7 separate regions of the Homo sapiens genome follow, and all the other regions are linked to region 1. Evidence: promoter capture Hi-C in 16 types of primary human blood cells and fetal thymus (Javierre and others, 2016). All regions are on one chromosome and are shown on one strand. Each heading gives the region's core, a stretch centred on a gene start or on the middle of the fragment in contact. The rest is flanking DNA. Distances are from core to core; before and after follow the strand shown. Region 1 holds the start of BTBD9-AS1 (BTBD9 antisense RNA 1). Region 2 overlaps ZFAND3 (zinc finger AN1-type containing 3). Region 3 overlaps ZFAND3 (zinc finger AN1-type containing 3). Region 4 overlaps ZFAND3 (zinc finger AN1-type containing 3). Region 5 overlaps ZFAND3 (zinc finger AN1-type containing 3). Region 6 overlaps ZFAND3 (zinc finger AN1-type containing 3). Region 7 overlaps ZFAND3 (zinc finger AN1-type containing 3).

Region 1 (4,022 bases), core at 1,123-3,622:
AGGGGTTCAGACACACAACCCCTCCAGCTCCTCTCCCGACGGCTTCCCACCCACTGAGCACTGGCCAAACCCTGGTTAAGCGAGCACTGACCTTCCTGTTTATCTGATAATCCACACAGTGTAGATGGGAAAAAATTGAAAGATAGAAAGGAGGAAGCATAAAAAAAATCATTTCCTCAATGTTAGTAAAAACATAAATTGGTTACATGACAAACATGAGGTGGTGACTATGTTAATGGTACAATGGCAAAGTTATTACAATCTTTGGAAGAAAAAAAAAATCCCATTTCTTCACAACTTTCCAACATTTTAAAATCCAAGCCCAGGCTTGAATCACTGCTTTATGAGGTAACACTCCCTTTCTGACTGCATCCGTGTGACTGGGCCACCAAGTCCCACTGATGTAGTTGGTATTACTACTGCTCAATCAACACCTCTCAGAACAACAACTTTCACTTCAGAATCCAAGCCTCAAGTTATAGGGGGCACTAAAATCTTTTTTTATTTTTATTTTTATTTTTAAAAGACAGGATCTGGCTCTGTCGCCCAGGCTAGAGTGCAGTGGCGTGATCTCGGCTCACTGCAACCTCCACCTCTCGGGCTCAAGCAATCCCGCTGCCTCAGCCTCCTGAGTAGCTGGGACTACAGGTGTGCACCACCATGCCCAGCTAACTTTTGTATTTTTGGTAGAGAAAGGGTTCCGTCATGTTGCCCAGGCTGGTCTGGAACTCCTGGGCTCAAGCGATCCTCCTGCCTCGGCCTCCCAAGGTGTGGAGATTACAGGCATGAGTCACTATGCCCAGATGAGCACTAAAATCTTTAAATAAACGCTCTTTTCTATAGACTGCTAAGAGAAATAGAAGGGAAAAAAGCAATACAATACTTAAGATTTACTGGAGAAGTACTACTGGGAATTGAGGGGAGAGTGTACTCTTTGGAAACAGATAAACGTAGCTCTGAAACCCTGCCTTGCTCCTTGCTAGCTGCATGATTCTGAGCAAGCTTCTTGATACTCAGCTTCCTCATCCATAAATACGGGGAGCAATGCACTTCCTTTGCAGGGCTCTTGTGGGCTGAGAGACAGCATGCATTCAACACTCAGAGTACCTCTCCTTTGTCGGTGCTCAATAAACAGTAGCTCATCTCTGCCATTCCTGGAGTTAAGGCAGAAGACCCACAGTACAGCACTCTGCTTAGGAGCTCTTATGAAAGTGTAGGTCAGATTGGTGCAAGTCCTGTCAAATGGGCATTGGTGGGTTACACAATCTGCTTTTAGCCTCTCATTTAAATTAAGCATGGGCCAGAACATCAAACTCTTTTCAAGAAATCAGTGCTGTAACTGGGACCCTGAGACTACCTCCATGCAAAGTAGTATATAAGTAAAAAGCTCTAATTTTGCTTGTAGCTCAGCTATAGAACACGCCAAAACCCCCCACCAAACCCACTGTTCTAAGTAATGGAAGTGTACTCTGAGAACCATCTGAAAAGAAGCCTGACAACTTGCCTGTCTTATTCCCCACCTGACCTCAATCTTTCTTCCTCTGAGTGGATGATTCCAGTGCCAGTTTTAGATCCAGTGCCTACCCAAGATTTGGCGCTTCCCAAACAGACTGTAGTGTTGGTAGACAGCATATAGCCATCACACAGGCTGACACTAAGAGATAGTGGGTATGAATGTGCGCTCTGTGCAAAATCCTCATGGGGAAGGAAGGCAACACCTGGGTACCTTTGGCAATGTAAAAATTCCCTTCTTTTAAAAATGCTCTTTAAACAAAGAGCTTTATATCTAGACTCAAAAATGCCTTTCCATCAGTATCAGCTTCTCCCAGGTAAAAGGAAGTGAAGACAGAAACAATGGAAATCCCATTGAGTAGGGAGAGGCAAAACAGAAAGGTTTATTCTAACGTGAGAGGAGCCCATGATGATGTGAAAGGGAAAGAAGAGAGAAGAATGGCATATAACCTGGAAGATTCAAGTACATTCACAGATAGATACTTTCCCAAGGTGTGCAGGAATCTAGCCCTTCTTCAAGGAGACAACCATAGCATCATATAATTCAAATTAATTCCTTTCTGAATGAGAGCTGAGTAACAAAGACAAAACTTGGCAAGATGGCACAGCACAGTGAGTGCAAAATTGTATTCCCAGTTGATACTTGGTGAGATGTTAGGTTGTCAGCTTAATGTAAAATAAAATGAGGCCGCACATCGTAAAGTGTTTTGAAAAGTAAAAATCCAAGGGAGATAGGAAGGCAGCATTTTAATGAGTCTAGAGAAAATGAATTCCAGGGTGAGCAGCTCTGCTCACGACCTCTTTTCAGTTGGTATCCCATAGGCCTCTGGGAAGCGGGGCACATGAGGGAGGGGCCAGTGCCTGCCTCCACACTACCCCCTCTCCCCTAATGAGGCTGGCAGCACCATTTGCTAGCACCTGGCAGATGAGAGAGAAAGAAAACCTGGTGTGGAGACCCCCATCCATTAAAGGCAAGAGAGTGAAAAGTGGGAGAGAAAGCTCCCAAGTTCAACAGCAGTGACCTAGGGTCATGCAGTGAGGACTTACAAAGGTATAAAAGCTTCTTTATTCAGGTGGTTCCTTTCAGCGCAACTTATTTGATGATGCTTAATGCAGGCAGTTAAAAGAACAGTTCAGTTGGATATAACTTACAGTACGTCACACAAATCTGGAGTGCCCAAGGAACATTAGTTTCAGGGAACACACTGAGATTATAACCAGCCTTTTTGCCAGGGGCAGCTTGTAACTCAGAAAGTCATGTTTCATTTAGGATGTGCTGTATAATGTTGAAGGGGAAAGTAACTATTTTGTTTTGTTGTGTTTCTTCCCAGTCCAAGAAGAAAGCATTTGGAGAAGTGCTACACATGCTCAACTGAACTTCCTGTCAAATTGTTCTCACTCGTTTGGGCACAAGTCTGCTTAAGCCATCTCTCATTAACATTTACTCTTGCCCGAAGCCCTCTACGCCCCCAACCCCTGCTAATCTTCCACAAGCAAGCTGATCACACTGGGATCTCCTTTTCCCAGACACGTTTGATTCTCACTTTCTCCTGAACCTAGAAATGTGCTTCCCACCAAAGCATGCCAGGCACTAACTCGTCCCTACTGAAAGGGGCTGTTAAAAGCTCATCTTCTTTCCAGATGGTAGTGAGGTGTGAGGTGATCCTTTCTCTTTCTTTTTTTTTTTTTTTTACTTTTAGCTACCCCTCAATTCTGGTGTTCAGTAACAATGTATTCCACTTAAAAGAGAGAAATCATATTAATTATTCTAAGATATAAACACTTAATTTTATTCATGCTCTTGAATTACTTTCCTTTCTACCGCATGTTTGTGTAGCTGTTATATGAGTCCTTTCTACTGATGTAGCTGTCATTCCTTCAACTCAGTTCTTGCCAAACACTGAGCTATGTCTGGAGATACAAAGATAACTACTCTTGTTGAAGAGATGCCAGTTTAGTGGGGGAGACAGACATGTAAACAGATCTGTATCTGAGATAGATGGCCTGGGTAGGAAAAGAATATATATAGCACAAATAACTCAGTGGACCTGCAAAAACAGAGCTTGAGGCCATGATATACCACAAAGACCCACCAAGGCACAAGCACTGTCAACATGAAGGTAAGGCTTCCATTTTTGCCTCTTTCAATCTGGGTACATCTATTCTACATACTCTGCCTTTCCTCCTGTTACAGGAAAAGAAGGAACCTCAATTCTACCTAAAGTCAATCTTCTCCTTGAGCTAGAGATCCAGCCCCTCTCCCATAATGAGGTACACGGCCCCTACAAAGATCCACTCTCCTGCATTATCAAATCCTCCCTCCCTGTGGTATCATTCCAGTCCACACACACACATACCTTAACATCATCCTCCCTTGACCCTAGGTCCCCCTCCATCCTCTTCATCATTTCTCTGCTTCCCCTCCCAGTGATACTTTATCTTCTACATGTATTGCTACCCCTATTCCCTCAGCCTCTATTCCCTTCTCCCTTGACTCCACTGAAATGGCT
Region 2 (4,022 bases), core at 1,103-3,602, 480 kb before region 1:
GAGGCTAGAATGGTCCATGTGGTAATGAATTAGAGAAGGATATATCAGTAATGTGGATACTTAATGTGGATACAGATGGTTACATATAGAAATATTTACAGAGATGAATGTGTACACAGATTGGTATACACATATATTTCCTTGCTCTGTCTGCTGAGAGGGCCTAGATGCAGCAAACAGTGATTATATGTAGCACCTAGATCCTGGTTTCTAATAACCATTCTCCAATAGAAGCAACCAGGGCTCTTGGAGAAGTGGTCAGTTCTAGGACTGGAGTAGGAAATATATAAATTGAGCTTTGAACATATTATAGTGCCAAAAAGTAAAGTGCTTTAAAAAACCCCACAATGAAGGGGGCATGTCAGAGGGACACAGGAGCCAGCTGAAGAGCTCCCAGTGGCCCAAGCTGGAAGGAACTATTTGAACAACAAAATAAAATACTAACAAGTTGTAACCCGAAATATAAAATAAATATCCATGAGTCCATACTGATATATAATTAGTGATAGATAACTAAAAGAGGGAGAAAGAGATAAATTTGCCATGTAGCATTCCAAATAATTTATGTAGCTACTCTGCCATTAAGGAGCAAGGGGAGCCTGACTCTCTGTTCCTTAAGTGTGGGCTGTGCTGTGACTTCCAAGTGTGGAAAGGGAGGGAAAGTAACTTTAATGGAGAAACCTGACAAACACTGCCTCAGCCAGGTGATCAAGATTAACATCAGCAGTGATAATTCATATTGATTGCATATACCCTTGATATGGTGTGATGAGAATGGCCTCTGTGATCTTCCTCCAATCCCATTAATCCAGTTTAACCATGAGAAAAATCAGACAAACCCAAATTGATGAGCATTGTACAAAATACCTGACCAGTACTCTTGACAAATGTCAAGGTTATCAAAAACAAGGAATATCTAAGAAACTATCACAGCTAAGAGGAACATAAAGAGACATGACAACTAAATCTAATGTGGTGTCCTGGATGAGATCCTGGAATGGGAAAAGAACATCAGGTAAAAACTAAGGAAATCTGAGCAAGTGTGGACTTTAGTTAATAGGGTGTCAATATTGGCTCGTTAATTGTAACAAATATACCATACTAGTGTAAGATATTAATGATAGGAGAAATTGGCTCCTGAGTATATGGGAATTCTCTGTACTATCCTGGCAACCTTTTTATAAATCTAAAACTATTACTAAAAAATAAAGCTTTATAGATTCCATTGATTAGAAGGAAAAAATAAATAAAGCTTTTTTAAAAAAGGAAAATACTTCTGGGTGGCACAAGTAGAATTGCTTTTACTTATCCCCCTATTGGAGTTTAAACAATTTTTAAAAAAATAAAAGCAAATTCAGATACCAAACAAACCAAAAAACTTACTGTGATGATCCTGAGAGGTTTTGAGATGATGTTGATCTCAGATTGATATTGATCATTTGCGAGACCCATAGCACCTTCCATTAATTAATTATAAATTCTTCTCATCTAATTCTGAAATTGAGAAACTGTATTTCCCATGCCCTCCAAACAAATTTGTGAAAGAGCGAAAATTTCATAGATCCTGACTGTATTTATTAGTTCATTCTTATACTGCTAATAAAGACATACCCAAGACAGGGTAATTTATAAAGGAAAGAGGTTTAATGGACTCACATTTTGGCATGGCTGGGGAGGCCTCACAATCATGGCAGAAGACAAAGGAGAAGCAGAGACACATCTTACATGGTGGCAGGCAAGAGAGCTCGTGTAAGGGACCTCCCCTTTATGAAACCATCAGATCTCATGAGACTTAACTTATTTACTGTCAGGAGAACCGCCTGGGAAAGACCTGCCCCCATGATTCAGTTACCTCCCACTTGTCCCTCCCATGACACGTAGGAATTATTCTCTAGTAAAACAATAAATTAGATCAAGGATGCTAAACTCTGTATTCACCTAATATATCAATATTTAGACTAAAAGAAAAGACTAAAAGACAAAAAGAAAAGATATCAGACCAACAGCCATAACTCAGTTCTCTTGTGTGTAACTACTTTTTACTCCTAGAGACAAAGGAGTTGTCTTTACTTTTATTCCAAAATGAGATTTGGGTGGGGACACAACCAAACCATATCACTGACTGAGTCTTGCGCCTACCTTCTGCTTAATGCTTCTTTCTTTTTAGAAGTAGAAATATTCATGAATGAGAAAATTATAGGCACTGGACCTTCCTCTGATGCACTGAATAAAGCTCAGAGTTCGCTCTAATCACACTTGAAGGAGAATAGGTTGAAGAATGCAGGGTAATTTAGAAATGCAAGAATGCTTGTATATCCTTTTACTAAGGAGATTTTTAAAAAATCTTCAAAATAACTCTGACCACCCTTAGTGTAGAAAGTATTCTAACTCATTTTTATTCATTCTTTTAAATAAGTTACTTTCTCTTGACCTGGAGTAGGACAGTCCCAACTTCCAGTTGAATAATAATCCCCTAGAAACAATGCTTTGTTATTTCTGACACTGGTTCACTGCTCTCCTCTTCACAGATCCATTACTACTAGTGTTTGACCTTCTGGAAGGCACAAGGTGCTCCTGAAATCATAGTTAGGACTGGGAACTGAAGGGCTGATGCAAATGTATCTTGTAAGACAGTCTGTGTTCTGTTACAAATGATCTCCATCCTGGTGTTCTTTCCTGCCCAGTTCATTTATTTTTCCTAGGATCTTTGCACAGAGCAGAGCAACATAAACTCTATTACAGTCTTATCTTTTAGTGGGCTTTTGGCCAAAGGTTCAGAGCTCTAGAATTTAGAATTACTTTTTACTTCATAAAATCACAGGGTTGATGTTAGCACTTTTTTTTTCAGCCATTAATTCATCCCTTGGTCATATGTAAATAAACTAAATTTGTATGATGTAGTTGGTGGAGTGAGATGTCTGGTTTATTCAGCTTGGAAAACCTCTTTCAGAACATGGATAAACATGTATTTGTGCATTCCCATAGCTTCCGGCAAGCTCTGTAGAGAAGGTCAGAGGAATAAAAGTAAAGGCAACTCCTTTGTCCCTAGGAGTAAAAAGTAGTTGCACACAAGAGAATTGAGTTATGGCTGTTGGTCTGTTATCTTTTCTTTTTGTCTTTTAGTCTTTTCTTTTAGTCTAAATATTGATATATTAGGTGAATACAGAGTTTAGCATCCTTGATCAAATTTATTGTATTACTAGAGAAGTACATTTTTACCAGTGAAAATACAGTCAAGTGTGAACATTTTAAATGCAGAAAGCCTGAGATTTTGTCCTATTCAATAAAACGGCTGAATTATAGAATACTCAAGAGATGTTGTTTTCCTTAAGAAGATATACTATAAATATTCATGCGTACTAAGCCTATAGAAACATAAACTAGGCTTAGTTCAACAATAAATACTTGCAAGCTCAATGAAGACATAATGGATACAAAGATGATACCCTCAGGAAGCTTATAGTTTAGTTCTAAATTACACTACTGTATTTTCTTTTCTTTTTTTTTTTTTTTTAAAGAAAACAGTTTAACATCAAATGTTTCCCAGGTTTACTTTTTGCACAGTGCATACAGTTTTGGGAAAATATGTGGTTACAACACGATATTCTAGGCCAGTTATGTTGGCTCACACCTGTAATCACAGCGCTTTGAGAGGCTGAGGCGGGCGGATTGCTTGAACCCAGGAATCCGAGACAAGGCTAGGCAATATGGTGAAATCCCGTCTCTACAAAAAATCCAAAAATTAGCCTGGCTCGGTGTTGTGCCTGTAGTCCCAGCTACTCAAGAGGCTGAGGTGGGAGAATCACTTGAGCCCAGGAGGTGGAGGTTGCAATTGCCACTGCACTGCAGCCTGGGTGAAAGAGTGAGACCCTGTCTCAAAAAAACAACAACAATAAAAACAAAATAAAACACCCTATGATAGTCCACAATTTGTTCGATGCTACTCTAGATCATCCTAAAGGAAAAAGCAATCAGTACGACACCAAGTCTTTAGAATTTCGAGGATTGGTTGATATTATCTC
Region 3 (4,022 bases), core at 662-3,161, 460 kb before region 1:
GTTTTTAAAATAAAGTCTGAAATCTTGATCTGCTTAGTTCCACCAAACCCTGTTCAAATTTTCTGAAGGCACTTTAGCAGAGCTTGTCTTTTCATTTTGTGAATACTAAACTGTAAACAATGTTCTTAAAGCGGTAAAGGGAATATACATTTTTAGAATTTCTATATTTGATACTTGAAAAGTTGGGATAGAGGAGAGACCTGGTGTTTGTGTCTCACTGGAGAGGGAAACTCCTGCTCCCATTAAAAAAAAAAAGAATCATATATTTCTAGATGTATATTTCAGTCTTCCGGGAAACTCCCTTTACAGTTTACCTTCCTAGGCAATGATACAGACCTGTTTGTTTTATGGAAATGAGTGTTAACTATATTTTCTCAAACTACAGAAAATAATATTCATGTTATTCGTGTCAGCATTCTTGATCTCTGGTTTTGGGTATTGTCCCCTCCCCCAAGTCTTATCTCATTCTCAAAAGTATGCCTTTTCCTAGGTTCCCAGAAAACTACTTATAATTTGCCCTTCCCTCCTTTTTGCGGACTTTGAGGATCAGCTCCCTTTTGCAGTTGTTGGTGGACTAAAATGACATTATACTATCACAGTTGAGGTGCCAGTTATCTTAATATAATATGAGTTTAGCATGTTTATATGTGGCTTTTGGAATAAGATGGGTCAGGTAATATCACCTGTAACCTGACTCCTATTTTTATAAAATGGTCATTAGCCTCATCATCCATAATCTTTATTATAAAAGGGGCCCACTGATACTACACATTCCTTTAGTATCTTCTCATATTAATAAATGAAGAACATTTTAGTTAGGTTTGCATTTTGAAATGAAATACAAAGAACCTAAAACTATTGTTTTGTAATATATCACAAGTGATTACAATAAAGCCATTATCAGGTAACGTTTTCCTCTTTACATTCTATTTTCAAAACATATAACGTTTTATTTTTTTAAACATAAAAACATACTAAGTTTTTGAAGGGGAAGTACACACATTCCACAGAATTTTTAAAAGGTATAAGGGTATACGCTAAATCTCCCACCTGCTCCTGATCCCCATCCACACATTTATACTCATTTTGTTTTTCATATTTACACCTCTGCTGTGCCCTTTTCTTTCTACTCAGAATTTCTTGGAGGTCATTTCGTATCGGTACCAATGCTCATTCTTTTATTGTGGCTGTATAGTTTTACATTATACTGCCATTTATTAAACCAGTTCTCTGTTTTGGAGTATTTAGATTACCCCCTCCTAGGCTTTTACTAAAACAACTCTCCAGTTATTATTTGTGTATGTAGGGTACTTTGTACATGCAAGATTATATCTGTAAGATCAACTCTTTGATGTAGAATTGATGGGTCAAAGTGTATGTGCACTTTTCATTTTGATATTGCCAAATTGCCCTCTGTAGAGGTTGAAATAATTTACACTCCCACTGGCAGTGTTTGAGAGTCCATTCTCCTGGCAGCAGAGAAGAAACTTTTTATTTTTGCCAATCTGATAGACTTTTTTTTTTGGGACAGAGTGTCACTCTGTCACTCAGGCTGAAGTGCAGTGGCGCCATCTGGGCTCACTGCAACCTCCACCTCCTGGGTTCAAGCAATTCTGTCTCAGCCTCCCAAGTAGCTGAGATTACAGGCATCTGCCACTACGCCCAGCTGATGTTTGTATTTTTAGTAGATACAGGGTTTCACCATCTTGGTCAGGCTGGTCTTGAACTCCTGACCTCGTGATCCACCCACCTCGGCCTCCCAAAGTGCTGGGATTACAGGCATGAGGCACCACACCCGGCCTGATAGATTTGTTAAAATGATATCTTATTTTGCTTTAGTTTGTATATGTTGAGGTTGAACATTTTTAATACACTTAAAGAGTAATTCAGATTTCTGTGAATTTTGTGTTCATGCTCTTTGTCCATTTTTTCTATTAGACTTTGGGTCTTTTTTATTTGTGGGAGCCCTTTTCACATTAAGAAAATGAGTCCTTTTCTATACTGTGTGTTGCAAATATTTTCTCCAACAATTTGTCATTTGATCATGTATGGCATATGTTGAAATACAGAAAGTTTTTATTTTTACGTAGTCAAATATATTAGTCTTTACTTTTATGGCTTCTGGGGTTTTTTTGGGTCATTCTGAAGGTTGTCCCTTAGAAAAATTTATGTTTTCTTTAAATGCTTCTTCGGTTTGCTTTTTATAGTTAACTAGGCTTATGTTTTTGATGAAAGACATCTTAAACATTAATATCAAAACACCATTTTGTGTTTGTTTTTTGAGATGGAGTCTCACTCTGTTGCCCAGGCTGTAGTACAGTGTGGCACGATCTCGGCTCACTGCAACCTCTGCCTCCTGGGTTCAAGTCATTTTCCTGCCTCGGCCTCCCAAGTAGCTGGGATTACCGGCACATGCCACCACACCCAGCTAATTTTTGTATTTTTAGTAGAGACGGTTTCAGTATGGTGGCCAGGCTGGTCTCAAACTCCTGGCCTCAAGTTATCTGCCCGCCTTCGTCTTCCAAAGTGCTGGGATTACAGGCGTGAGCCACCACACCCAGCCTCAAAACACTATTTTGGCCTTCTCATAATGCCTTTGCTGTTTAACTGCAGGATGGGCCTGCATGGCATAGACTGTAGATCCAGGCACATGGGCAAATCATAGCTTTGTTACCTAACTGCTGTGTGAGATAGACAGATTAATGTATCTAACTTTGTTTTCTCATATGTAAAATGAGAATAATTATACCTGCCTCCAGAGTAGTTACGAGAATTGGAAGATAATGTATATATTAATTATATTCTTAAAGCACAGTGTTATAATTTATAATCCAACACACATTAGTTTTCTTCCTTCATCTGACTTAAACATCATAGTGATCGGAAAGATAATTAAAAATTTTTTTTTAAGTAGAATCACTTGGTGGTTAAAAAAAAAAACATGTTTCAAATTATCTCAAAAAAATACTGTGCTTTAGTAATACTTTTGTATTAACAAACAAGTCTCCAACATAACTCTATCCCTCTATTTATTGCATTATTTATAAATAAATGGTAGCATTTGCTTTCCAAAGAGGAGACAACTGCTGGCTTTTGTGTTAAAGCAAGACAACTATGTAATGGCATGTGGATAAAAAATATTTTTAAAATTCTTCCTCCTTAAAGGGAAGTTTAGGAAAATACATCTCCTTATTTTGCCTCTCTCCCCATTACACAGCCTGATATTGTCCAGATTGCTGTGGATCTTCTCACCAAATGAGTTTTGTATCTCTAAGTTAATTTTCTGCCAGAATCACTTCAGGCTGATGACCGTGGTGTTTGTGTATCCATTAAGCACACTGCCAGGATATGTCCACTACTTTCCACCTCTCGTATTAAACAGCTGTCAGCAGGTTTACATAGCTACTCTCTTGCTCTGCATTAAGTGTAGGGAGCCAAAGGATGCTATGTAAAATGGTCTATAAAGGAGTTACATAGAGCTGGCTTAGAAATCACAGAAGATAAATTCTGTCATCAGCTGGGTCAAATTTATTAGTGTTTTATACTTATATGAACAGAAAATATATGAAAGGAAATACATTTTAAAAATTCTGTTTCTTGGTTAACCTTTTCCTTTCTTCATTTAACAACCTCCAACTAGTAAAATTCAACAATTCAGAAAAAGCACATATTGGAGGAGTCTTGGGTAAGAAGCTCTCATTAAAGTTGTATATAGCACCCTGCTGAGCTTTACAATTGGTTTTGAAATGAAAATCTGTTAGATTAGAGCAAACATTATCCCAGCTGCCGCGATAAGTAATGTGGAGAAGATTAATGATTTGTCTATGAAAGCCAGTGAGCATTAAAGTCTGCTACTGTGCCCTTTTTAAAAGGTGCAGGTGAGAGAAGAGGTAGGAAAGAAGGGAGGACTATGCTATTCATAGCTACATGTTTATCTTCTTCATATGAGTTAGTGATTCCCTAGCTTTTTTTTCCCTTGATAAAACCAAGGAAGCTTTAAATTTCAATGATACCCCCAGGAC
Region 4 (4,022 bases), core at 440-2,939, 430 kb before region 1:
TCGTATTTGTATCCCCAGGATTGGCTTGTTAGTGTACATTGTTAATGAAGCCAAAGACTTCGCTATAATTCATACCAGAGAAATTATTTTCATTGCATTAGTCTCAAGCTAGCAACTTTTTAAGAAGTCGGAAGAGGAATAGCAATCATGGTTAATCCAAGATTTACTATATGTCAGGCACCGTTCTAAGACTTCCACATGTATTATCTGATCTGCAAAATAACTTTATTAGGTAGATAGTATTATTATTCTCATTTGTAGGGAGAAAACTAGAGCAAGAGAAGTTAAGTAACTTGCCCAAGGTTACACAGCAATTAAGAAATAGAGCCAGGATTTGAACTCAGGCAGTCTGGTTACACACACCCTACTGGGACAGAGGATATGTAGGTTAGTTGTGCATGAGCTTTTCTCACTAGTGGAGAAAGCTTTTGTATCAGTAGTTGATAGCCTTAATATGGAGATAGATACCTTTTAGGAATTGTGAATTATATAAACATCATGTATTCTGATACCTTGGATTCACTGGATAAAAATTAGTCAGTTAGCCCTAATCTTGGGAAGATCATTGTCATCTTCTCTGAACATCCCCCTGATATGCTTTAATAGATGTAAGAAGAAAGTGTTAGTAAGCCCATCATTTCATCCTTCAAAAAAATATATCTTAGAAGTTTGAACCACTACTTGGTCTTTTACTCTTTGGGAAAGAGATTGACTCTCCTCGCTCCCCCACCCCCACCCCCACCCCCTCCCCCTCACACCCACCCCGTCTTCATTCACCACTTTTGAGTAGGCAATTAATTTTTTTTTTTTTTTTTTTTTTTGGGGGAGACAGAGTCTCTCTCTGTCTCCCAGACTGTAGCACAGTGGTGCAATCTTGGCTTTCTGCAACTTCTGCATCCCAGGTTCAAGCAATTATCATGCGTCAGCCTCCTGAGTAGCTGGGATCACAGGTGCACGTCACCACGCCTGGCTGATTTTTGTATTTTTAGTAGAGATAGGGTTTCACCGTGTTGCCCAGGCTGGTCTTAAACTCCTGACCTCAGTTGATCCACCCACCTCGGCCTTCCAAAGTGCTGGGATTACAAGCGTGAGTCACCGTGCCTGGCCAAGAAGGCAATTCATTCTTTGCTTCTTTTTCCCCTTCTAGAGATGGAGTTTTGAGATGTTACCTAGGCTGGCCTGGAACTCCTGGGCTCAAGCAATCCTCCTACCTCAGCCTTTCTAGTAGCCAGGTGATATGGTTTGGCTGTGTCCCCACCCAAATCTCATCTTGAATTGTAGTTCCCATAATCCCCACATCATGCTGGTGGGAGGTAATTGTATCATGCGGGCGGTTACCCCCATGCCGTTCTCGTGAAAGTGAGTGAGTTCCCATGAGATCTGATGGTTTTATAAGGAACTTTTCCCTGTTTGCTTGGCACTTCTCTCCTGCCACCTTGTGTAGAAGGACATGTTTGCTTCCCCTTCTGCCATGATTCTAAGTTTCCTGAGGCCTTCCCATCCATGTGAAACTGTGAGTCAATTAAACCTCTTTTCTTTATAAGTTACCCAGTCTTGGGTATTTCTTCATAGCAGCATGAGAACGGACTAATACCCTGGGACTATAGGCGTGCACCACTGTGCCCAGCTGACATTCTTAAAATATAACATATTGTATTTCTTGAATTTAAGCTGAACATTTGCAAGTTTTATCTTAAGGGAAAACGTGTCTCAAAAGTTAATATCACCACTCTAAGTTGAATTTACTGAAACAGATGCAGTGGTCAGCTTAGTAGCAGAGCTTAAATGAAGGAGACCTGAAGATTGGTGGTGTGTGACCCTGGTAGGAGATGATGAGGCTGAGAACTGAGTAGAAATACTCAGGGAGTATTGAGGGAGTATTTAGGGGTAGGAATAGCCCCTTAAGTCAGGAGCTGCCTTTGTGAATAGAGGGAAGCAAGAACGAATAGGACCAGATTGTAAGAGCATACATAGGTGGGCAAGAGCAGTCCCACCACCGCTCTACCCAGTCCCACCACCTAGGCTTTTCCCAGTCCCACCACCATCCTCTCCCTCAAAAGAGAGGTGCAGTGGGAATTATTTTTTTGTCTTTTCTCCTGTCACATCTGCATGGTAAAATGAAAGGCTAATAGCATTAGGACTGTGGATACAATTATAGAAATAATCAGTGATCTAAAAAGGGGGGTGCTAACCTGCTGTTTTTGCTAATTTATTCCCAAATACTTTTCTACTTTTCTATTCTGTTGTCATTGAAGTCTTTATGGGACATTTAAAGCCTTAGGTCTGGGGTAAAATATTGCAGCCTCCAGCCTCTCCAGCAGTTACGTTCATGCCACTTCTGTGCCATTGGAGTAATTCATGAATGACACTAAGGACTAATGGCTTGAGGGGAAGTCTTTAGATTATACCAAGGATCAACTGTAAACAAAGAGAAGTTTTTTGTTTTGTTTTTAGGCTCCAACTTGCCTATTTTATTTTGTCAGCTTTACCCAGTTTTTCCACAATATGCCAAACCCTATCTGTAATTTTGATGGCTGAACTGTATGTATATATGCGCACACAGCATAAAGTGCATATTTTGTTAGAACTAGATTAATGCCACAATATTCAGAAAACTTCTCCCTGTGTTTTCAAAAAATTGACATATTTTGTGGTTAGACTGAAATGAGGTAAATGTACATGTTATTGTAGTACTAATGGATTGTTAGATATTTGCTGTAATGTTAACAGTTAATTTATGCCCTGTAAATGAATATTGAATATGAAACACTGTTACAGGGAAAACTGTATAGTCTGCACAATAAATGCTGTATAGGAAACAAGCCTTACTCCAAATAATTTTTTTTGCTAGTTCACACCTCTGAGTAGTTGGCTCTATAGGTGTGAAGAATCTAGAGAATGTATAATTTCAGTGATAAACTAGATTATAAAGTAAGTTTAATTGCTGAAAAGAGTAAGCTTTGCCAGCTTCATATATTCTCTTGTTGCCTGTTTTTGCAAGACACATTTCAGGATATGCTTTTGGGAGCCAATCTAATGTTACCTGTATTTGCCTCTCGTAAAAATCTTAAGCTTTGTGATTTAAATCTAAGCAAGCAGGAAGTGACTTGAGAGACCTTGTAAGTCCTGTTAGGACCAGTTATCCATGATGAATAATAAGGAAGAAATTTTTATATGTGTGGGGATAATTTATGAAATCCAAACATCTACTTATTGACAGGGTGCTTAATATTTCTCCTGTAGGTAGGAGCACTCTTGCTTCCTATAAATACATTTTGTAGCAATTTAAAATCCATTTTAAATTGTCTGTAAGAGAATTAATATTTTTCAACTTTGTGTGTTCATCAGTATCCAATACGCTAAATTCAGCAAATTTATATTATGTATTATGTGGCAGGCATTTTGCTAGGGGCTGAGGCACACTGTGAATAAGACATTCATTTATCCAACAAATATTTAATAAAGTACCTTCTATGGGTAATCTTAAGGACTTCCCTTAGGAAGTAGTGCTTATATTAAGAGTTCAAATATGAGTAGGATTTACCAAGGTGAATATGAGGATAAAAAAATCTCCCACGTGTCATGATTAAAGCACTCCATGTTGACCGCCGGGCGTGGTGGCTCACGCCTGTAATCCCAGAGTGATTACAGGCACGAGGCTGAGGCAGGGAGATCATTTGAGATCAGGAGTTCGAGCCTGGCCAACATAGTGAAACCTTGTCTCTACTAAAAACACAAAACTTAGGTGTGGTGGTGCACGCCTGCAATCCCAGCTACTTGGGTGGCCAAAGCAGGAGAATTGCTCGAACCCGGGAGGCGGAGGTTGCAGTAAGCCAAGATCGTGCCACTGCACTCTAGCCTGGGCGACAGCGCAAGACTCCATTTCGAAAAAAAAAAAAAAGAAAAAGAAAAAAAAAATAGCACTTCGTGTTGAGAAAGAGCATGGAGTGTCTGAAAAACCAAGAGCACTGGAGATGGCTAAAGCAAGGAGAGGGAGAGGAGGAGCAGTGGCATCAAATGTG
Region 5 (4,022 bases), core at 403-2,902, 410 kb before region 1:
GTTGAACACAGATTTCCATTGTTTCCTTGGAAACTGGTTTCTGGTGATATCGTAGCTCCCTCAGGGATATTTAAAAAATGGTAGTGCCTTTTAACAGATGTCCTTGCTAGACTGCCCCGGGTCTTTGAACATCCATTGGGCGTCATTGGCTACATATCTTCATTTCTGTCTGACAAGCCTTAATCTGTTCCCTGGAAATTTAGTATCACTGCCACCAAGCGGCTAAACTTCTGATTTGTTTGTTTTTACCAATTAAATTTCTAATAATCTCTAAATGAAACCAGTGTTCCCTTTTTCAGACTATGCCTACTTCAGGAGGCCAGATATTGGGCAAAACAGGCTGGTTTCTTCTAGTAAAGCATTTAGAAAATATTGCCTATTAAAAAATATTTTATGACTTCCTGCTGGGCTGGTTTTAAGTGAAATATGGTGGGGAGATTTATTTACAGTTCTCTGTGTGTGTGTCTTTCTCTTTGCTTTTCTCTAATGAAGCTCAAAGCATCAGGCCATTTATCAGAGATAATTATACAACAGATGGAGTTTTTCCGATATATAATAGTCTCAAAGTGGAAGATTCTTTCCCATAATGAAGAATGCCCAAACTTTAAATGTCTCTTTTGATTTTAATTTAACGGTGTTTTTTTCCCCAGTGCATTTATTCATTCATCCCAAAGCTGGTTCTGCAAAGCATGCTGCTTTTATTAGGGCTGTGTTCTGAAAAGATTGATACTTTGCAGTACAGTATAATAATGTACAGTTATATGCTATATTGAAGTGAAGAGCCATAATTTATCAAAAATCAATGTGTGAGATCATTAAGTTAATCTCTGTCAAAATACAGGAGTTGAGCAGTTCAGCAGTGTTTTCTTATAGAAATTCTTTCTGTTCCATAATGTCAGTTGGATAGGAACTTGTTTAAGTACTGGTAGTATCATCTGACCTTCCATTTGTAGTCAAAATAAGAACCAGATTAAAGCAAAACCATGATTTTTAAGTTATTCATTTTCTGGCTTGCTTTTCTTTTTCAAAACTTTTAATCCTATTTTTAAGTATGCAAGTAAAACATGACTACATTCTCAATTTTTGAATTACAAAGACACAGGTTTAGATAGAATAGAACATGAAAATATTCTAACGTCACCACCATCAATCACCACCACCCAATTCCTACTTTTTACAGAAATAACCGCTGTTTATTCATTATGGGTTGTATTTTTTCTATGCAGCTGTGTACATGTTTACATACAAGATTTTATCTTGGCTGGGTGCTGTGGCTTGCGCCTGTAATCCCAGCACTTTGGGAGGCTGAGGTGGGCAGATCACCAGGTCAGGAGTTCAAGACTAACCTGGTCAACATGGTGAAACCCCCACCTCTACTAAAAATACAAAAATTAGCCTGGCATGGTGTCAGGCCCCTGTAATTCCAGCTACTCGGGGGGCTGAGGCAGGAGAATCGCTTGAACCCGAGAGGCGAAGGTTGCAGTGAGCCGAGATCACTCTAGCCTGGGCAACAAGAATGAAACTTAGTCTAAAAAAAAAAAAAAAAGATTTTATTTTTATATAAATGACAGCATACTGTATATATTGTTTTATAACTGCTTTTTAACTTAATATATTTTAGAGCTCTTTCCAAGTCTACACATGGAGATCTGCCTTACTCCTGCATAATATTCTATATTGCCCTTACTATCCTTTTCTCTACTCTCTTCTCTGGAGGTTGTTTTTAATATTTCACTATTATGAGCCATGTCAAGTAAACAGTTTTGTACGTGGCTAATGGTGCATATGTTATTTTTCCATGATAAATACATAGAAGAGGAACTAACAAGTCAGAGAATATGTATATTTAAAATTTTGATTTGCATGGCAATATTACCTTCCAAAATGACTGTATGACTTTATATTCCTAAGAATGATGTTTGAGAGTGATTGTTTACCACAGCATTACCAATATTAGGTGGGTTTTTTCTTTGTTTCTTCTTCTTTTTTTTTAATAAGTTGGGCAAAAGAATAGCTCATTTTAACTTGTGTTTTCCAGACATCTCCTGATAGTGAGATTCAGCATTGTTTTATGTGTTTATTAGCAATTTATAAGTCTCCAGTGATTTGCCTATCAGTGTTGTTCTTTGCTTATTTATTTTTTATTAGCTATTTTTTTCTTACTGATTTGTAGGAATTCTTTTATATATATATATATATGTAACAAATTCTGGATAAGTATTTGTTACATATATGTAAAAAAAGAATTCTAGATAAGTATTTGTTACATATATTGCCAGTTTCTTTTGGTATGTTACTTGGCTTTTAATTTTCATTTGAGTGCCTTGTATTCATTAGAATTTTTTAAACTTTAAGTCTGTTGGTCTTTTGTCTTCCAGTTTTCTGTCTTTCTTAGAAGGCTGTCTGAATCGTAGAGTTATAAAAATATTTTTCTATGTACATTTAATACTTTCATGGTTTATCTTTTTCTATCGTTAGCTCTTGAGCCCATCTGGAATTTATTTTGTATTTAAGGCATAGAGATTTACCTTTATTTTTTTTTCCCAAGTGGATAACCAGTTATGCAAAAACCATTCATTGAATAGTCCTAGTTTAAAATGCTAATACTATTACATAAAGACATAGATCTGTTCCTAGGCTCTTTATTTTGTTTTATTGGTCAACCTGTATATTTCTGAAACTGGAATATACCTTTATAGTATGTATCAGTAGCTTCTGATTTGGATTATATTGAATATATAGATTTTTTTCAGAATAATTGACATTTTAATAAACTTTTGGGTCTTCTCATAAAGGAATATAGTTTGTCTTTATTTATTCAAACCTTCTTCTATGTTCTTGGCAAGAGAATGTCATCTCTCTGCACAAGTTTAGAGACTAAGCACCAAATTAGCAGAGGCTTTATTTTATGCTACTTTGCTCTGTCCCAGAACACCTAGCACACTGCTGGCATAGTACTCAATAAATGGTTAGTGATTTAAATATTTAGGAAAAGTTTTGTTTTTAATTTTTCTTACTTTTAGAAACCTACTTTATGTGTTTTGATACATTAAAGAAGGGACTTCTCATTGCCTGTACCTGATTTTTGAATAGCTACTTAATTTTTTAAAATAATTTTCTGTACCATACAGTAACCCCAAGACAAAGCAACTCAAAAAAAGGCAGTGTCCCTACCAGATTTTGAAAATTTGGATGCTTTGTGGTGGTAACAATTCATCTCAGACTTTTGGAATAATGAGAGTCATTTTCTGTTTCTCTCTCTCTCTCTCTCTCTCTCTGTCTCTGTCTCTGTCTTCAGTACAAATAGGCACTTGCCTGTTGTAAAATAACCATTTTTGCTCGTTGGTATTTATCACCTAAATTTCCCTCTTGAAGATTCCCACTTGCAAGAGAGAATACTAGCAAGCTTTTAATACTCATTTTCAAAAGTCCCTTAAGAAGTCTGCAGATCTGAAAGGTTAGTTTCCCAAAAGATTACCTCAGTCACTTGTGAGATTATACAGTTACTGATATTCAAACTAGATTTTCAAGCAACATCATCACTGTCCCCCCTGCCCCCAATATGGATTTCTTTAAATGTTCGTATTAAATTAAATGCTCTGTCCTTCTCTGTGAAAGTAAAGGTCATGTAAACAACCACACTTCACACAGCTTTAGCTCTTGCACTCGTCATATTTTTATTTTGTGTAGGTACAAGTAATATGTGACACTGTGCTGATTTTAAATTAAATCTAAGCTTTATTTATGACAAAAATGTTTGGCTGAAAAAAAAACATAATGGCATTTATGTGAATGTGTTGAAGCAGCCATTTTAAGCTTACATAAATATATTTTAATTGTGCTTGTGAACTTCTTTCTGAAAATTCAGAGCTGCCAATGCCAAAAAATGACTATGTAACTGTACATTTTGTATTCATGGCCTCTGTTACTTTATAAACCATCTCACTTTTTGATCCATCAAAAAGATGATTCTTTAGATTTAATAAAAACAATAAGATGGCACCTTAGTGAGGAATTTTTAA
Region 6 (4,022 bases), core at 621-3,120, 390 kb before region 1:
TCGTGAAATGCTTAGAATTCACTTTAGAGTCATGGGGAATGATGAAGGGATACTAGAATGTGGAGGGAAAGTCTAGGAGTAGGACTGTGTTTTCCAGTGAATGGAAAACTTCAAATGTGACTTGGCAATGCTTTTGAGTAGCACATGAGCACCTAGTACTTGGAAAAACTGAGATACAGCTCTGTTCAACTTCGAGTGCTCAACTTCACTAAATCACAGTAATGAGACCTTTGAGATAGGAGAAATCTGTAACGGAGCCACAGAAGAATACTTTTTGGAAAGGGCTTTCCGGTTTGATCCAGGAGTTTATCAGCATTCTGGTACTTCATGTATTTGTCATTTGTGCCTTTAAGTAAATACACATCTTTATGTGTAGTACCCTCAAAACTAACCTATCAGGAGACTTCCTACTGTTAGAGATATTGTAGTTTTTCTCTGATGCCTTAAGGTGTGCCTAGGTGTATCTCAGTTTTGAAGAAGCCTAATACATGCTAATCCCAGTAGTATAAGCTACATAAACTAAGAATTAATGTTATAGGAGGATCCTTCAGTCTATAAAATGCCTTGCCATTGGGTTAATGTAAATAGGTTTTTCCTTTTGCATATAAAGTAATACTTGACTTGCCAAAAAAACCAGTTCCTACTGATTTATTCAGGAATGTTCTGTGGGTAGTGGCCAGTGGAATAGAGAAAGAGAGATAAATCTGATTAAGATATGTTTGAAAAGAGTAATTGACAGGATTTGATGGCTGATTAGAGTTGGCTGAAGAAAGACTGCAAAGTATAAATCTGGAGAACTGAGGGAAGAAAGATGTAACTGACAGGGAAGGAGTAGGAAGAAAACTTGATTGAAACTATTTTCAGTTTCTGATGAGTTAAATTATTATAGTCCTATAGAAAATTATAAATATGAGCCTGTTTTAGAAATTGCTAATTTAGAAACAATGATTAAAACTGTGCAAATGAATAAAGAAGAAGAATGGGGGGTAAGGACTGTGTTTCAGGGCAGGAAAGAGAAAGAGGAGCCAGTGAGTTAAGGAAGCTAAAGAAAGGAGAAAGCTTCCCACAGGATCATGAAAGATGCATGAGAAGAGGGATCAGGAAATGTGAGGACTAAGGAAAGCTATGGCCATGGCTAGCAGAAGATCACTGGAAAACCTGAACGAAGTTTGTGTAATGTGTGGGAAACGAAAGCCTGAAATCATTAAAGAGGGCCTTGATAACAAGGAAATAAAGGCAGCAGACAGAAATCATTCATTATGGAGTTAATTGAACCATTAAAAACTAGCAAATAGTGGTGGTTGGAGGGAGAGACAGGGTCGGGCATTTTTTGGTGTGGAGGTGGTTAAAATAGTGAACTATTTTGCCCCTACTAAAATACAAAGAAAAGGGATCCAGGAAGAGAAATAGAAAAGATTAGAGGAGAAATGGAAGAGGCATACAAGCAAGACTCAGCAGAGGCAGAAACCCAGAAGGGTTATTTCTATCTAAGAGTGTAAGGAAGGACATACAGTCAGAGATTTTCTCAGTAAATGAGTAGATAGTTAGCTGAGACAAGATGAACTAGGGAGTTTCTCCTAGAAAAGGTGGTCGCCGTGTTCTGATTAAAGGAAAAAATAATACCATAAGTTGTAAGTAGCAGCAGAGAGCTGAGGGTATAAGGAAGGAACTATTGTGGACTGAGGAGGGAAGATAGCATCTACAAGTAGTAGCTAATTCAAGCTGTCATTAAGTAGTTTAAGTTTATAGTGGGCCAAAGTAACACTTTCCATGGGTACTGCATTTAATCCAGAAGAAAAAAAAAAAGCAAAGGGGAACAAGTGGTGCTCTCTTTGTTTTTTAATAAGATTTCATTTTTATAAAAGTAACATATGGTAACACACCATATCACAGAATAGCTTAGAAAAGAAAGTAATAACTTGGATATGATCCTACTCCACAAAGCTGACCAGTGTTTCTCTCTTGACAGTTTTAGTACCTTTGTTCTGTAGGTTACCTTGTAATTATGAGAGGAAAATAATGCTTAAAGTCCTCCTTTTTGAGATGTCAACTGGCATGAAATAGGAAGATTTAGCTTATACTATTCCTCATCCCAGTGTTTGCTATTTTATTGTTGATTTTCATTCTTTCCTGATCCATCAACTTTCAGCATCATCTCTTAATGAGGATATTAATACATCTGATTGGAAATACTTATTCATCATATCTTCGGTCGGCTACACTTGTAATTTTTATATGTCATGGTTGTTAGTTAATACAGGTTGAGTATCCCTTTATCCAAACTGCTGGGGTCCAGAAGCGTTTCAGGTTTCAGATTTTTTAATATTTGCATTATACTTACTGGTTGATCATCCCAAATCTGAGAATCCCAAATCTGAAATACTCCAATGAGCATTTCCTTTGAGCACCATGTTCCAGAGCTCAACATTTTGTAGCATTTTGGATTTCAGATTTGAGGATTAGGGATACTCAACCTGTATTTACAGTCAGGCTGTAACCAGAAGCAAATCCTCCATGTATGTTCATAGGTTGTTCCTAAAAAATTGAAAGCCCAATATATGACATTTACATTATTATGACTCTGTAAACGTTCCCTGTCAGGCCACCGTGATACATGCTAAGAATATATTTCTTTTTCTATGGGTCTAATGAAAACAGTTAATGGTGAACTATTTAGAAAGCAAGCTTTCATTTACTTTTCAGGGCTAGCATCTGTGAGCCATTGCATAAGAATCTCTGAGCCATGGAAAAAGAATGTTACTACAGCAAAGCCAAATTGATCCTTTATTATATTCCATCAGTTGCTCAAAAATCATGCCACATCTTAGTTTGCCTTATATTTGCATTATAGCTTTTTAATACAGGTCCCCCCACCCCTGGCATTTATAATTGCCTTTCTTTTTTTTTCTACAGTATTTGGTTTTACGTCACCACTTACTTCCTAACTCTGTATTTACACCTTTCACCTGAAACCTTTTTCCTAGCGCCTACCGGTCTTTCCTCTCCAATCTGAACTAGATTCTGTAAGCCCGCGGTGACATCCTAGAATTTCCTTTCACTGCTCAAGCTTTTATTCTCTCATTTTTCCAAATACACCCCCAAGTTAGTGCCTAAAAGAAGCAGTGTTAGAGTTCCTGCATATCTGAAAATTTTTTTCTGCTTCCATTATGTTGGAAAATTTGAGTAACAATTCTCGGATGAAAGTCATTGCTTCAGCCAGACACGGTGGCTCATACCTGTAATTCCCAGCACTTTGGGAGGTGGAGGTGGGTGGATTGCTTGAGCCCAGGAATTGGAGACCAGCCTGGGCAACATGGTGAGGCTTTGTGTCTACAATCAATACAGAAAATTAGCCAGGCATAGTGGTGCGCACCTGTGGTCCCAGCTACTTGGGAAACTGAAGTATGAGGATCACCTGAGCCCAGGAGGTCGTGGCTACAGCGAGCCATGATTGCACCACTGCACTCCAGCCTGGGCAACAGAGCTGAGATGCTGTTTCAAAAAAAAAAGTAATTGCATTCTTGTCTTCTAGTATTCCATGTTACTACTAAGAAGTCAGATGCCACTGATTATCATTTTTATGAGTAATATACCTGGATTTTTTTCACTTTTAGAACTCATTAGGGTTTTGTTGTTGTTGTCCCCCCCAACCCCCCGAGACAGAGTCTTGCTGTGTCACTCAGGCTGGAGTGCAGTGGTGTGATCTTGGCTCACTGCAACCTCCGCCTCTCGGGTTTAAGCGATTCTCCTGCCTGAGCCTCCCAAGTAGCTGGGATTACAGGCACCTGCCACCACATCGGGCTAACTTTTGTATTTTTAGTAGAGGCGGGGTTTCACCATATTGGCCAGGCTGATCTCGAACTCCTGACCTTGTGATCCACCCGCCTCAGCCACCCAAAGTGCTGGGATTACAGGCGTGAGCCACTGTGCCCAGCCAGGGTTGTGTTTTTATAAGCTTAGTGTTCTAAAATTTGTAGTGAAGTGTGTATTAGGCATCCCTTTTTTCCATTCAAGATGCGAAT
Region 7 (4,022 bases), core at 549-3,048, 370 kb before region 1:
AGGGCTTAATGGTGTTCTTTTAGGATGATCAGTATATCATACCAGAAGCTGTGGCAGCATCAGAAACCTCCTTTAGGATTCATTGTTCAAGAATATTCCATGCCTACTGCCTACCAGAACAAATAACTCAGTGGTCTTTATATTAATGTGGAATAGATCAAGGAAAATCTCAGCATGGGATCATGTAGACATTCCTTAGTGTTGCTATTGAATGCCCATTGGTCAGGTAAGATGGGGAATTAAGAGAAAAAGAGGTCAAGACTGCACAGGCCTCCTAACTTTGCAGGGCAGGGGTTGGGGGGTCCCATCAAAGTGGGTTGTTTGGTGATGACTAATGATTGTGATTATGTAAATATGAATTCTATTTCTCAGCCATAGGACTCATACATTTAAAAAATTTTTCTTCACATATCTAACTCCCTTACTTATTTGGACATAGTTACCTTATGGATAATATTGCCACACTGAAATTCTTTTTGTCTTTATTTTTTCCCCCGGCTTCATTGACACAGTGAAATTAAATTGTCTTCTCCTTGCAGGAAAGGTTTGTTTTAGAAATGGGTGCTTTGCAGATGAACAGCATGTTTGACGGTTTGGGATAGATTCATGTAGAAAGAGCTCTAAATGTGAACTCTGCATTTTCAGACACAGAGGTGTGAAAGAAAGGGGCTCAGGGTCTGAGCAGTTCTGTGTTAGAGTAGAGGTGTGCTGGCATTGTGCCAAGGCCCTCCAGATTTTAATCATAGTAATAATGAAAAGGCCTCAGCTGCCTCCCCATCTTGTGCTGACACCTGCCTCCCAGTGGGAGTAATTTCCTATAAGGATGCTTTGAATTTAGGACTTTGTCTCAGAAAAAAACATTTTTTGTTACAGTTTTTACCCTAGAATTTTCTTGTTACAAAAAAAAAATTCTAAATAGGGTTATTGATACAAATAGAGCCATTGCTGGTTTGTGTAAAAGGACCCCGCCCGCAGAGAGCAGTGTGGCTCATACAAGGTGAATTTCTTTCAGCTGACTGCTTTGTAATGATTTATATTTAAATTGTTGCTTGTTGCTCTTGTAGAAGAAGGGAGAGCGCCTGCCCTATCTGTAGCCACCTTACTCACCACACTGACTGGGCCTGGACAGCTTTGCTCAGCAGAGCTGGGAAATAGGCTGAACTTGCCTTCAATTGTTTTCATCAGAGTCCTTATTTAGTTGGTTTGTATTGGGGCAAAATGTCATGTAGGACTGGAAGAATTAAATGAGATGAAAAATGAAGTCTGTAGTTGCTAAGAATGGTGCAGGGCCTCCATATGCCAGTACAGCACAGCAGGGCTGGGGGACTATGAGCAAACTACCAGCATCACCATCGGGGTCCACTGGACAATCTTGGGTGAAGTGCAGCATCTTCCTCACACACAGGGAGGCTAGGAAAGGGCATACAGACAGCCTTCACTAAAATACATCCTATAGGCTGTGGCTTCTCACTAGAGCCACTTTAAGTAGAACATTAGGACTGCCTAGGAGACAAATTCATTCATTCAAAAAATATTTATTGAGCCATAGGCATGGAGGGAACATCAGTAAACAAAGCAGGTGAAATTTCCTGCCCTCTTGGAGTTTGCTTTCTTTTAGGGCATAATGTTAAAGATAAGTGCTGTGGAGGAATAAAAGGGAAACAGACGAGGGGAAGTGCTAAGAATAGGGATTCAGTGATCTAGAAGTGATGATCAGGGAAGAAGCCTTCAATGAAAATGTGACTTTGCAAAATAAAATTTAAAAGAAAATGTGACGTTGGAGCAAAGATATCAAAGGGAATGATGCAGGGCCTCCATATGCCAGTACAGTGCAGCAGGGCTGGGGGACTGTGAGCAAACTACCATCATCACCATCAGGGGCCTGGGTGATAAAAGAGATAAGATCCCATGTAGATCTGGGTGAAGAGTGTTTCAGACAGAGGGAATAGAAGGTACAAAGTACCACAGGTAGGAGACAATAAGGAGGCTAGTGTAGAGATAAGCAAAGGAAGGAAAGCAGCAGGAGCTGAGCGTGGGGCAAGTCATGCAGGGTATTTGAGAGTCTAAGTATCTGGACTTTCACTCTGACAAGGGGAGCTATTAGAGGGTTTTGAGCAGGGAAGTAACATGATCTAACTTGATTTTTAACAGAGTCACTTGTCTGCTATGTGGAGAATAGACTGTAGAAACAAGGGGATGAGCAGAGAGACCAGTGAAGAGGCTCTTGTAGTAGGCTTGATGAGTTGGTAATGGCTTAGACCAAGGTGGGGGTGACAGAGGGGTAAGAGGTGTGGCATCTGGATTATTTTGAGGAAGACTGTTTAGGAGACTCCCTTCTGGAAGTAATTTAGCACAAACAATTTGGAACTTGGTAAGAGGTACATCGTGGGTATGCAAGCAGCTGTTTCAGGAATACAGAGCCCCAAAGAGCTGCCCAGTTTATTGAAGGCAAGAGTCGTTTACAGCCTTGCCTGTGATAAGAGCTTTGTTGCGTCTTAATTACTTTTTTGAAGTTGTGCAAGACACAGTTTTCACAGAGTACACCCCCCTCCACCTACCATTTTGGCTCCACCTCAAGGTGGGGTGCCTGGTGCTGCTGCTGCTGCACCACCCCATGGTGGAGTTCATAGGGCAGCTTGCATGTGTACCAGCAGAGGTGCCCCTTCATTCTGAATCAAATTGAACTAATTGTCAGTATTAGAACCTGACTTCTGTGTCTTTAAGAGTAGAAACGTGAGTAATTTTACTATAAAAGATTACAGATCACTCATCAAACGCTGGCTTTGGGAATGGAATTGTGAAAGCATAGTGATACAGAGATACATTAGACATAGTCCCATCTCTAAAGAATTACGGTCTACTTGAGGACAAGCAAATGCCCAAGAAAAGATATCTAACCAATACAGGCAGTAAGCATCTAGGTCCCAGCAAGGGAATACAAAGACAGGACCCCATTTCTAGCTGGAATGGTCTCCTCATAGAATCTCAGCTCTTTTTAAAAACAACAACATAGAACTGGTTTTTGTTGAGCCACCCACACCCTCCTCTCCAGCTCAGGCCTAGCTTGTTAGAAGTCAGCACTAAAGGTACACGTTTGTCATAGTTTGTGCAGTATAAACCAAGCAAGTCAGAACTGGCTCTCACCTGTCTGATTCCTGGACAAGGGCAGTAGCCTGGTCAGGAGAATGCCTGGAAATACATTAATCAACTGTGCTTGCCAGGCCAGGCACTAATCCTGATCCCCAAATATGTTGTTTTGGTCAGATTCACAGTCTGAGAATGAGGCTTCACCAGTAAAACGGCCACGACTACTTGAGAATACGGAACGGTCCGAGGAAACCAGTCGATCTAAACAGAAGAGTCGACGTCGGTGCTTCCAGTGCCAAACCAAACTGGAGCTGGTGCAGCAGGAATTGGGATCGTGTCGCTGCGGTAAGCATCTCCCCCAGTGGCGTGATGGAGACTATATCCTTAACACCTTGGCCCAGCTTTGGAAATTTAAGTGGCTGAAGTCTTTCGTTCTTCTTCTGAGTACTGTAAGTTTGCTACAGTAGTGCATGCGATATAGGTTTGGGGCTTGAGAAATCAGGAGCATAGTATGTTTGCCTCTAAACACCCTTTATTCTCACACATGCAAAAAAGACAAAAACATCCCCATGTTCTTAATGCATATCTCCTTAGAGCTACATCTCACTGCTTAGTGCTTTCAACTTCCCCCCACCACTTACTACTCTGGTTTCTTCTCACGACTTCAGAAGTTTACCAAACAAGCAAAATTCTGGAGTATGTACCATAAAATTCAGATATTAAGTTAATTTTGAATGAGCTTCTTACTATTTATGATAAATGGAAGATTTTTTTTTCTCCATATCCCTGTTAAATTAAGCTTTGATTAGAAAATTACCTTTGAACCTTAGTTCATCTAGTCAGTTAATACCTTGAAATAGCCTTTTTTTTTTTTTTTTTTTTTTCCTGGGCTGAATCCATCCTCCTGCCTCTGCCTCACAAAGTGCTGGGATTAC

The links. The method cuts DNA at HindIII sites, captures the fragments that hold promoters and counts their contacts. A CHiCAGO score of 5 or more calls a contact.
Region 2: a contact is called between a fragment that was not itself captured here and the fragment with the promoter of BTBD9-AS1 in region 1, in 1 of 17 cell types (M2 macrophages). The highest score is 5.5, in M2 macrophages.
Region 3: a fragment that was not itself captured here is called in contact with the fragment with the promoter of BTBD9-AS1 in region 1 in 3 of 17 cell types (M2 macrophages, M1 macrophages and M0 macrophages); the score reaches 14.0 in M2 macrophages.
Region 4: a fragment that was not itself captured here is called in contact with the fragment with the promoter of BTBD9-AS1 in region 1 in 3 of 17 cell types (M2 macrophages, M1 macrophages and endothelial precursors); the score reaches 7.4 in M2 macrophages.
Region 5: a fragment that was not itself captured here is called in contact with the fragment with the promoter of BTBD9-AS1 in region 1 in 2 of 17 cell types (M2 macrophages and M1 macrophages); the score reaches 6.0 in M2 macrophages.
Region 6: a contact is called between a fragment that was not itself captured here and the fragment with the promoter of BTBD9-AS1 in region 1, in 1 of 17 cell types (M2 macrophages). The highest score is 5.7, in M2 macrophages.
Region 7: a fragment that was not itself captured here is called in contact with the fragment with the promoter of BTBD9-AS1 in region 1 in 2 of 17 cell types (M1 macrophages and endothelial precursors); the score reaches 6.1 in M1 macrophages.

Annotation. Positions count from the first base shown.
Region 1 is chr6:38,479,224-38,483,245 of GRCh38, forward strand. BTBD9-AS1 (BTBD9 antisense RNA 1) reads left to right here and starts at 2,373. Exons shown (of 2, transcript NR_144472.1): 1 at 2,373-2,563; 2 at 2,844-3,304. The region is part of intron 6 of BTBD9 (BTB domain containing 9); the gene reads right to left. The HindIII fragment of the contact is 1,570 bases long and covers 1,001-2,570 here.
Region 2 is chr6:37,998,788-38,002,809 of GRCh38, forward strand. All of the region lies in intron 2 of ZFAND3 (zinc finger AN1-type containing 3), which reads left to right. Among named protein-coding and RNA genes, the nearest start is that of ZFAND3, 180 kb to the left of the region's middle. The HindIII fragment of the contact is 2,204 bases long and covers 1,251-3,454 here.
Region 3 is chr6:38,017,457-38,021,478 of GRCh38, forward strand. The region is part of intron 2 of ZFAND3 (zinc finger AN1-type containing 3); the gene reads left to right. Among named protein-coding and RNA genes, the nearest start is that of ZFAND3, 200 kb to the left of the region's middle. The HindIII fragment of the contact is 4,161 bases long and covers 1-3,992 here.
Region 4 is chr6:38,049,148-38,053,169 of GRCh38, forward strand. All of the region lies in intron 2 of ZFAND3 (zinc finger AN1-type containing 3), which reads left to right. Among named protein-coding and RNA genes, the nearest start is that of ZFAND3, 230 kb to the left of the region's middle. The HindIII fragment of the contact is 2,533 bases long and covers 424-2,956 here.
Region 5 is chr6:38,068,884-38,072,905 of GRCh38, forward strand. The region is part of intron 3 of ZFAND3 (zinc finger AN1-type containing 3); the gene reads left to right. Among named protein-coding and RNA genes, the nearest start is that of ZFAND3, 250 kb to the left of the region's middle. The HindIII fragment of the contact is 3,504 bases long and covers 1-3,404 here.
Region 6 is chr6:38,092,535-38,096,556 of GRCh38, forward strand. The region is part of intron 4 of ZFAND3 (zinc finger AN1-type containing 3); the gene reads left to right. Among named protein-coding and RNA genes, the nearest start is that of ZFAND3, 270 kb to the left of the region's middle. The HindIII fragment of the contact is 1,626 bases long and covers 1,058-2,683 here.
Region 7 is chr6:38,113,308-38,117,329 of GRCh38, forward strand. It overlaps ZFAND3 (zinc finger AN1-type containing 3), which reads left to right. Exons shown (of 6, transcript NM_021943.3): 5 at 3,265-3,432. Among named protein-coding and RNA genes, the nearest start is that of ZFAND3, 300 kb to the left of the region's middle. The HindIII fragment of the contact is 4,171 bases long and covers 1-3,884 here.